Linked DNA regions of Homo sapiens: region 1 is linked to region 2. Evidence: promoter capture Hi-C in 16 types of primary human blood cells and fetal thymus (Javierre and others, 2016). All regions are on one chromosome and are shown on one strand. The core of a region is centred on a gene start or on the middle of the fragment in contact, and the rest is flanking DNA. Distances in the headings are between cores, read along the strand shown. Region 1 overlaps SKAP1 (src kinase associated phosphoprotein 1). Region 2 holds the start of HOXB-AS1 (HOXB cluster antisense RNA 1).

Region 1 (5,225 bases), core at 2,497-4,996, 260 kb before region 2:
ATCACTGTGCCTGGCCTCAGCTTTATTTGTTCTAAAGGAAATTATGAATAGTAATGGTTATTACATAAGTAATCTCTATGATGTGGGAAACCATTAAGCACCTTTTACATACTCTAAATAAGAATTATGCTTTGGGTTTTTATCATATTTCTAAAATATTTTCTAGCATGAAACATCTAACTTAACATTACACACAAACACATATTCCTATTTATCCTTCCAGACATAATATAGTCACTGTCATTACAAAGCCTTCTTTGTGCTAACTTCTTTGTTCTCTCTTCTCTGCTCCCATGTTACATTTTACCATAATCATTTTCTTGTATCTCTATCCCCCATTAGGCATTGAGCTCATCCTGGGCAGAGAACGGACTCTCTTCACATTTGAATTTTCAGTGCCTACGCTGTTCTTTTTTCTTTTTCTTTCTTTACCTGCATGGTTCTTGACACATAGTAGTAGATGTCCGGTGTGTGTTAGTTGAATGAGTTAATAAATGAAAAAATAAATTACATGTATATAATAGAATATAATTCTAGCACAACGAGACCTCAATTATAATAGAATATAATTCTAGTACAACAACAGTTCAACGAGAGTGGAGAAAAGGATGGAATCATGTGAAGTCTTCCAGATGTGTTAATTATGTTGAACCTAATGCTAAGGATAGCAAAAGTCTTTGAAGAATGGCCAAGAGTGAATTTTGGGAAGTCAAGTTGAATGATTAATAGTCCAGATGAGAATCTGTAATGGCTTGGTGGAGATGGCAGGGATGGAGAGTAACAGAAGTATCGGAGAAATACTTACGATGAAGAATTGATAGCATCTGGTGAGTGGCTGGATACTGGGCTGGGGTAAGAGAGACAGGAAGTCAAAGATGAGAGCACCATTTACCAAGAGAAAGAAGAAAAGGTACAGATTTTAGGGGGGAGAAAACAAAGTTTCAGACATATTGAGTCAGGTACTGGAAAGACATCCATGTGTTACTATGAGGAGGGAACTATTCCTATCCTCCCCTCTTACACACCAGGAAACCTGGGCTGAGGGAGCTTACATAACTTACTAATTGCTTCCCAGACCTGCCTCCAAAGTCCATGTTGTTAACTCCCAGGCCATACAGCATATGATTCTTTGTTTAAGGAAAACACCAATATATTGCAAGCCGAGTTATACTCCTGACTTCTGAGTACTAAATGTGTCTCAACTGAAGCAACTATCCTGGAGGATGAGGCCACTTAACAGCTTCCAAAGCAAGGTGACGGTATTCTTAAGGCCTCCTTCCCACACACTTCTCTGCCAAAATAGATGGCAGCTAAGCCAAAGAGCACTGGAGAAAGACATGGAGCAGAAAAAAAAAGAGAAGATCCTCAGGGCGCTGGTAGAAGTGCAAAGGTCTTGTTCAGGTGAAAGAAAATGTGTAATAAAATTCACCGGTTCAGCTGAACAGGTAATTACAGAGTTAATAAAACAAGGATTCCTGACACAATAGATTCTAACACTGCCATGGGTGTCATAGTCACTAAGTGACTTTTTAGTTTGCTGATCATTGATCCACTAGACACTAACAGCTCCAATCGGATCAATGCAGGATAACATATGAGGAGGACTTTGCATGTTAAAAATCTACTGGAAATTTTACATGAAAGAGTTCATTATCTGGGTAATGTGACCTGTGTCCAAATGATACATGTGGACCATTTGTCAGGTTTTTTAATGGAAAAAAATGAATTTTTTTCTAAAAGCCTAATTATGTGATAAATTCCACTGCCGAGAAATTGAAGCCACTTGGGTGTCATGAATGTGTAAACATGTTAATTCGAGGGCTGTGTTACCTAAAGAAGTATATTTCATTCCACTCTCTTAGCTTCCCTTTCCCCAACGGGGTCATCTCATCCATCTCCTCCATTCCTATGGCCCACCAACACTCTGTTCTTGGGTCTTTCTCTCTTCGTAGCCTGGGCCAGCTTCCATTTTCCCTAAATCCTTCTTTCCTGTGCTCACAGTTCCTTCTAAGAGCTTGTCTCCTAAGGCCAGCATTTAACCCAAGGTCCCTTTGCTATCTTCATTCCCTGGGGCCCTGTTGTCATACAGTTTTATCAGAAGAGAGCAGACAGAGAAGAAAATATACTTATTTCTCATGGAAAGAACTCATATATTGCTTGGTTCTAGAAAGAAAAATGATCTAAAGCAATAATAATAAGCTTGTTTATGGAAACTAGACAAATCAAAAAGAGTTCTGGAAAACATATTTTGTATGTTTGGTTTTAAATACTTTATTGAGATATAATTTACATAAAATACAATTCTTGGCCAGGCGCTATGGCTCATGCCTGGAATCTCAGCATTTTGGGAGGCAGAGGTGGGAGGATTCACCTGAGGTCAGGAGTTTGAGACCAGCATGGTACAACATGGTGAAACGCCGTCTCTACTAAAAATACAAAAATCAGCTGGCTGTGGTGGTGGGCGCCTGTAATTCCAGCTACTTGGGAGGCTGAGGCAGGAGAATCACTTGAACCTGGGAGGCAGAGGTTGCAGTGAGCCGAGATCTGCACTCCAGCCTGGATGACAGGCTGCACTCCAGCCTGGGTGACAGAGTGAGACTCTGTCTCAAAAACAAACAAAAAACAACAACAAAAAATGACACACAAAAAACACAATTCTTTTTAAATGTACAGTTTAATGAATTTTGACAAATATATACATATATATATAGTAGTTGTATAACCACTACCAAATCAAGATATAGAATATTTCCATCACTCTGAAAAGCTCCTTTTTGCCCCTTTGTAGTCAATCCACTCTTTCTATCACTGGCCTTGCCAATCATTGATCTATTTTTGTGTCTATAGCTTTGACTTTTTAGGGATGTCAAATACATGAAATCATATAGTATCTAATATTTTATGTCTGGCTTTCTTTAATTAGCATAAAACCTTTAAGATTCATCCATGTAGTTGTGTGTATCAGTAGTTTATCCCTTTTTATTGCTGAATAGAAACACAATTTGTTTATCTACTCACCAGTTGATGGATACTTGGGTTCTTTTCAGTTTCAGTGAATAAAGCTGTTATAAACACTCAAGGCAGAACCTGTACTCAGACTTAGGCAGTCTAAACCCAGAGCTCAGGTTTTTTTACTTTTTTATTTTTATTTATTTTTTATTTTTTGAGATGGAGTCTTGTTCTGTTGCCAGGCTGGAGTGCAGTGGCGTGATCTTGGCTCACTGCAATCTCTGCCTCCTGAGTTCAAGCGATACCCCTGCCTCAGCCTCCCAAGTAGCTGGGATTACAGGCACATGCCACCATGCCCGGCTAATTTTTTGTATTTTAGTAGAGATGGGTTTTCACCATGTTGGCCAGGATGGTCTTGATCTCCTGACCTCGTGATCCACCCACCTCGGCCTCTCAAAGTGCTAGAATTACAGGCGTGAGTCACTGCACCTGGCCCAGAGCTCAAGTTTTAAAGCACTTCAGTCTACTGGTGCCCAATAAGAAACCATGAAGCTCTTTGTCATTGTCATGGCACTCCCTGATGGGGTTCTTCTCACTGCTCCTAGTGCCTGTGATGCTCTCCAAGTGGAGACTGCCTGATCGCACATCAAATGCTGCTCATTTAGGCTGGCAGGCAGAGGCAGCGTGCTTTCAAATTGTGCTTTAAAGAAAAACCTTTATATTTCCAAACAAATTAAGGGAATTTACTTGTAAGGAAAATCTAATTTAGGTATCTTTAAAAGGAGAGGTTTAGAAAATAAGAAATTAACACTGTGGCCACCATCTAGTGATCCATGGCTTAAGTTTTAACATGGCACTGAAAACTTCTCTTACCCATAAGTGTTGATCTAGTATAATTTATTATCTTTGGAACAGTATAAGTTTATTATAAAATCAATGAGAAAATATATGCCATTAGGCATGCCCTCATACTCATATTGTTTAGAAAAACAATAAAACAAAAACAGACAAAAAATAAATATTAATATTTACTAGTTTATGGACAGGCAAGACAACTTTTTAAAAATCCTAGTTTATCTAATGCATATATTTTTAGTACTGCAGCAATAAGGAAAACCTGAAGAACAACAGCTAAGTGTAACTAAGAGTACATATTCTACAGTTAAAAAAATCACACAAGCATTTACTTGATTCTTCATGCACCGATAAGAATGGTAAAGAAAACAGAAATCCCAAAATAATATAAGTTTGTCTCAGCTAACAATATCATTTGGAAAATTCTTATGTTTACCCAAAGTTGAACTGCACTTAATACTTTCTTTTATGCCTTTCTGTTTCATTTTATTAGATTAAGAAATTATAAAAAGTTTAAACATGTACAAATGTATAGAAAATAATGTAATGAACCTCCTGTAGCTATCATCCAGCTTCAACAATTATCAACTCATGGCCAATTCTGTTTCCTCTATTTTCCTCCATTCATTCCTCACCTCTACCCAAACTAATGCCTTATTTTTTTTAACTTTGTACTTTGAAATAATTTTAAGTTTTCAGAAAAGTTGCAAAAATAGTACAGAGTTCTCATCTATCCTTCACCCTGTTCCCTCAAAGCTAACATATTGCATAACCACAGTATAACTATCAAAACTAAGAAACTGCTTTTGGCTGGGCAAGGTGACTCATGCCTGTAATCTCAGCACTTTGGGAGGCCAAGGCAGGAGGATTGCTTGAGCCCAAGAGTTCAAGACCAGCCTGGGCAACATAGTGGGACCTCAGCTCTACGAAAAAGTAAAAAGTCAGCCAAGCATTGTGGTGTACGCCTGTAGTCTCAGCTACTTAGTAGGCTGAGGTGAGAGGATTGCTTGAGCCTAGGAGGTCAAGGTTGCAGTGAGCCAAGGTCGTCTCGCTGCACTGCTGCTGCCTCAGTGACAGAGCAAGATCTGGTCTCAAAAAAAAAAGAAAGAAAAGAAAAAAAGAAACTGCCCTTTTTTTTTGGTAAGGAAAATTGCACATTTTTGTGCTCCTCTGATAAATGCAAACCCACCCATCTGAGGGAACAATAACTACAAAATGCCATCCACTCTTAGCAATTATGTAATTCCATGTAATTATTTTCTCAGTTTGGCTAAAAAAAGCAAGTACTTTGAGATCTCTAAAATAGTCACAAACTAGTGCATTTTCTAGTTAAGAAGATGTTTGGGAGAGTCAAACTCTTATTTCAGAGACAGAATATAATTTAATAATTACCTGAATACAGAAACACCAATGAAGTTGTG
Region 2 (4,919 bases), core at 1,866-4,365:
AGTGTCTGTTTCTGAGCGGGAGAAATATTAAAGAAACCTAAGGAGGATGGATGGCTTTCCGGGGACCTTTAAACCTCCACCTTCCCAGAACAAACCAGGAGGCAGATGGGGGAGATCGATCCTTGCTTCCCGCTTACCAGGTTTACAAGGAACCAGGCAGGGTGTGGTGGGGGATAGACAGGACATGGTGTTGATACGTGAAATGAAGTTGTTGGTCAAGACTGGTGGGTCTGCATTCAGAGAAAGCTCTGGCCTGGCTTCAAATCCCACAGCGAAGAATCAAAAGTCAGACTGGATGAGGCACACCCAGGCCCGCAGACCCGCCGCTCTCCTTCCCTTCCCACATCCACCCGGACTCTCCTTCCATCTCGCGTCCTCAGCGTCCGTTGGGCTCCACTTTAAAAATAAAAAAATCAAACTAACTAAAACGAAGGTGGGACCCCCCAGGCTCCCCTTCTTCCCTGGCCTCTGGAAAATCCAGCTGGGAGGACGCAGGGGCGGGGGCAGATCCCGGCTGGGCCGGCGCCTCCTGCAGCGGCTGTCATGGCGGCCACAGCTTCTTCCCTCGCCCCCCCCCCGGCCCGCCGCCCGGCCCCAGCGCCATTTTGAGCATCGTCTTTGCTTCCCTGTCTCCCTCCCGCTCTCCTCGCTCCTCCTTCTCTCCCCGCAGGTCCAGCGCCTCGCGACGCTGCCGGGCCACCCTGGGCTTCTCGCCCGGCTGCTGCTTGGATGGTCTCCCAAACCCCAGCAGCCCGAGTCCATGGGTGTCCCGGCAGCGCCACATTTCTCAGCTGGCCTCTTTTCTTGCCCACTGGGAAGCCAGTTACCATCCCTGGGTGCGGGACCCTGCTTCCCGAGAAAATCCCCGACCCCACTCCACTCCTTGGAGAGCCACCTACAGCTCCCAAAGAGGCCCGGCTCAAGCCCCAGGCCTCGCGTCCCTAGGCTTCTTGAGTTCGGAAAAAGGTCCTACACCGGCTTCGGTCATAAGAAGCAAAAGCCTAGGAAGCCCTTGGATTGTTCCCAATTCCAGTAAACTTCTGCCCCCGCCACGACCCTGAAGACTGTCCACAGGCTTCCTCTCCTTTCACCCTCCTCTGTTCGCTGTACACTCTCTCCCTCGACCTGCCCATCTCTATTTCCAAGCAGAGGCCCCAGAACCACCCGCTCAGGACCAAAGACCCTCTGCTGAGGGGCGGGGAGGTGACCCAGCTTCCTGCAAACTCCCGACTTTTGCCGGAGCCGTGGGCGAAGCGGCCATCAATCGGGTCACCTTTGTACCACCCGGACTTCGCCGGCCCTGGAGGCTTTGCTGCCATATGGGCCGCTGAACCTAATCAACTTCGCACAGGTCCTGGAGGGGTGAGGACCGGCCTTGGGGCCGCGGGGAAAGAGTTTAGGTCCCAACACAAACACTCGTTTTGGTATTATAAAGACATTTATTTAATCTATGAAAATAATGTACAATAAATACTTTCCCCTTTTCCTATTATTAAAGAATTTTAATAAATAATCTACAGTCTAAAACATAAAAAAGAGGAAAATAGGTCCCTCTAGTTATTTTTAAGAAAGTCCCCCTAGAGTTTAATTATTCCTGAGATTTCATTGGAAGGAGTCTACCAAACGGAATTTTTCTGTGTGAATTTTAAAAGATAACCGAGTGCCCAATATTTTAGAAGAAGAAGAAAGGGAGTGGATTAAACGCTAATTCAGTAATACCTGAATTTTAGCAAAACACATAAGTCTATGCGACTGAGGGTGGGAGAGGCTCGATTTTTCCAGTAGACGGCCAAGGAGCGCGGGGGTCGAAAGGACCGGGAGGAGGAAACAGGTTAGGGAAACTGCAGGTCGATGGCACAGAGCGTACTGGTGAAAAAATCCAGCTCTTCCTCGGAAAAAGGGACCGGGCTGTCGAGAGAACCCTGTAGGCTAGGGGAGAGGCCTCCGGATAGCTGGAGACAGGAGTCGGCCGCGAAGAAGTTGAGGTCGGGAAGGAAAGGTGAATCCTGGCGCCCCGAGAAGACGTCTTCTGGCAATGGCCCGGGCTCCAGCCCGCCGGCCCCGCGCAGCGCGCAGCCGGGACTCGACGCGCCTGCGCCCTCTAAGCGAACGGCTAAAGGCCGGGGGTCCGCGCTTAAGGCCCCCGGCACCACCTCCGGCGGGTGACAGCAGGCTTCCCACGCCGCCCGCGAGGCGGAGGGGCCGCCCGGGCTGGCCGCGGGTTCCTCGGCAGGGTCGCAGATGTCCTCCAGGGCTCCCGGGCAGGCAGGCTCCCCATCCGGCGGCTCTCGGTGCTGCGTCTGCCGCTTGTGCTTCATGCGCCGGTTCTGAAACCAGACTTTGACCTGCCTTTCGGTGAGGTCCAGCAAGGCCGCGATCTCGACGCGGCGTGGCCGGCACAGGTACTTATTAAAGTGGAATTCCTTCTCCAGTTCCAGCAGCTGCGTGTTGGTGTAAGCCGTGCGCAGCCTGCGCGCCCCGCCGCCACCAGCCTCCGGCAGTCCCAGGCCATCTGCAGGGAAAACAGGCTCGGCGTCATAGCGGGCCGTGTACTCAGCCCAACCTCAGTTCGGACTACCCCATCCTCCAAAACCAGTATCACCTCTCCCCTTCCTCGCCACCCCACCCCCGCCCCCACCCCAAAGCCGCTCGCTTTACTGCTTTTGGGTTTTCTTCTCTCCCTCTCTAGTCTACAGCCCCGGCCCGGGTCAGGGCAAAGCATTCAGAGCCGCCCACGGGCCACGCAGGGGGCGGAGAGCGGCTCCCTTCGGCGCCGGAACCTCAGATCCCCCTCCCAAGCCCTCCCAGTGGACCCCTCAATTCGGAACTTTCCAACTCAACCGGAGCGAGGGTCAGAAAGATTGTTCTTCACCCCTCTTCCTCCCTAGCTCTGAATTCTTCCTCTTCTCCTAGAGTTGGGGCAGAAAGGACCGAATCTTTTCTGCTTCTAGGGTCTATCCCAGCAACAACATACTCATTCCCCTACACAGATACGGGTGAAAACCTCAATCAAATCATTTTCTTCTAGCAGAAAAAAAGGCGTTTCCCCAACCAGCTTCCAAAATCAGCCATAGGGAGAGAAAGAGAGAGAGAGACAGAAAAAAAAAAAGACGCTGTTAGCGGCCAGGCCTGAACCCCAGTGGGATATTCTACTTCCCCATCCCAGGAATGGAGGGGGTAAGGAACCCCAACAGGCTCGCCACCATTTTTTTTAAACCTCCTTCCACTGCTTTTTCTCCCCCTCTTCTAGCTGCCCCTCACCCCACCCCCACCACGCTTACCGACCTGCAGGCGATCCGACCCCGGAGGCCGGAACGGCGGAGGCGGCCGGAGAAGGAGACGTGGCGGATTGGCTGGGTTTCTTGGCGGATTTCTTCTCTTTCATCCAAGGGAACTCGGGGGCCGGGGGGGCAGCGGGGAGTGGCGGCGGCGGTGGCGGCGGCAGAGCAGGCCCATCTTCGGCTCGCTTTTGGCTCCTGGGTCTCTGAAGGGTGGAGGCGCCGGGCTGGAGGCTGGGGAAGGTTTGCTCGAAAGGAGGAGGAGGAGGAATTAATGTCGACTCCTTGATTGATGAAGTTTGAAATGTCTCCAAGACAGCGGGGAAGGAAGTCAGACACTCGGCGAGCGACGGCTGGCTGTTTATAAACCCAATCTCCCTCTCAAATTCAAAATTCATGGCTTTCAATGGTGGGGGAGGGGGCTGCTGGGGGGGGCGTCAGGAGGGAGGATCGGAAGGGACCCCCCTCCTGCACCCCCCCCGATTTATGTAATGGAGCGATTTTGGGAGGGGGAGATTTCGGTCTCTCTTTTTTTTAATTTTGGGCCTTTATAATTGTATATTGCTGATAAATACAAGCGTATGGGGACTCTCTCTATTAAACCCAGGACTCCAGCGAAATTACAGGGAATTCGTGGTCACGGGACCGGCCTCCGCCAATCGCTCGTCTGGGCCTGGTGGAAAACAGAGAGCATTATTTGGTTTAATTGATTCAAAAACACCAGAGGACCACGACCAGGACACCATGAGCCCCCATTCCTACACCAGTGCCTCACATGCTCTCTCCCCAATGCCTCCGTTTCTCCAGAAAAGCTAGAGGAACCTTTTCCTCATCCCCTTCGAAGGTTAGAAGGTTTCAGAAGCCTGGAAAAGAAGAGACTCTAAGGGAGAAACCTTCCTCTTTTCCAAGTATTTTAATAGAGTAAATTAAGGCCTTCTTTACGTGGCCAGCAGCATCCCCTTCCCTTCTCCCCTTCCCCAGGAAAAGATGAGTGAGGATCTCCGCGTTGGAGGAAGAGGGAGTCGAAAGAGGCTTCCACTCTTTGAAAAAGGTCAGTATTAAGGTGAAAATAAGAAAGAGATTTACAATCATCACACCACTATCCCTGTTACCCTCCAAAAACAACAGTTAAATCTTGGGAAATGGACAGGAACTCCCAGGCAGACACATAGGAGTGAGATGGAGCATAAGGGGCATTTTTGGGCCTCTGGCCTCCATCGCTGTATGGTCTGGGTTCTCTTCTCTGCCCAGTGTTTGCAGCACTGCCTCTGCCCCTTATGTACCCCTGCTTTCCTCACTTTCAGGCTTCCATGCTTCTCTGTGACATCCCCCAAAAACAGGCAGAGTCTAAGATGTGCATGTACCCACTCAAGCCTCAAGCTTGTATCTGTATCCATATCCAGGGACATGAACAAGAACTGAGGTAGCCATTGGTTTAACTTAGAGCACTCTCAAAGTTCAGATCAGCGTTATGTGTGTGCATGAGTGTGGTGGGGAGATTTTCCCCTAGGACAAAGAGACTTTCCCTCCCATTTTTGCCATTGTGCTAGTTAAAAAAGAAAAAAGAAAAAAAAAAAAAAAAGAATCCCTGACAAGGAAGAATTCCCTGAAGATGGTAGGGGTGGAAATAATGACCACTGA

What was found. The method cuts DNA at HindIII sites, captures the fragments that hold promoters and counts their contacts. A CHiCAGO score of 5 or more calls a contact.
Region 1: a contact is called between a fragment that was not itself captured here and the fragment with the promoter of HOXB-AS1 in region 2, in 1 of 17 cell types (total B cells). The highest score is 5.2, in total B cells.

The regions. Positions count from the first base shown.
Region 1 is chr17:48,277,880-48,283,104 of GRCh38, forward strand. All of the region lies in intron 4 of SKAP1 (src kinase associated phosphoprotein 1), which reads right to left. Among named protein-coding and RNA genes, the nearest start is that of SKAP1-AS2, 14 kb to the right of the region's middle. The HindIII fragment of the contact is 3,099 bases long and covers 2,198-5,225 here.
Region 2 is chr17:48,541,236-48,546,154 of GRCh38, forward strand. HOXB-AS1 (HOXB cluster antisense RNA 1) reads left to right here and starts at 3,116. Exons shown (of 7, transcript NR_102279.1): 1 at 3,116-3,177; 2 at 3,886-4,122; 3 at 4,260-4,329. HOXB2 (homeobox B2) reads right to left here and starts at 3,874. Exons shown (of 2, transcript NM_002145.4): 1 at 3,286-3,874; 2 at 1,420-2,512. The coding sequence starts at 3,676. The coding sequence ends at 1,833. RefSeq lists a silencer at 2,000-2,289 and an enhancer at 2,097-2,742. The HindIII fragment of the contact is 10,206 bases long and covers 1-4,656 here.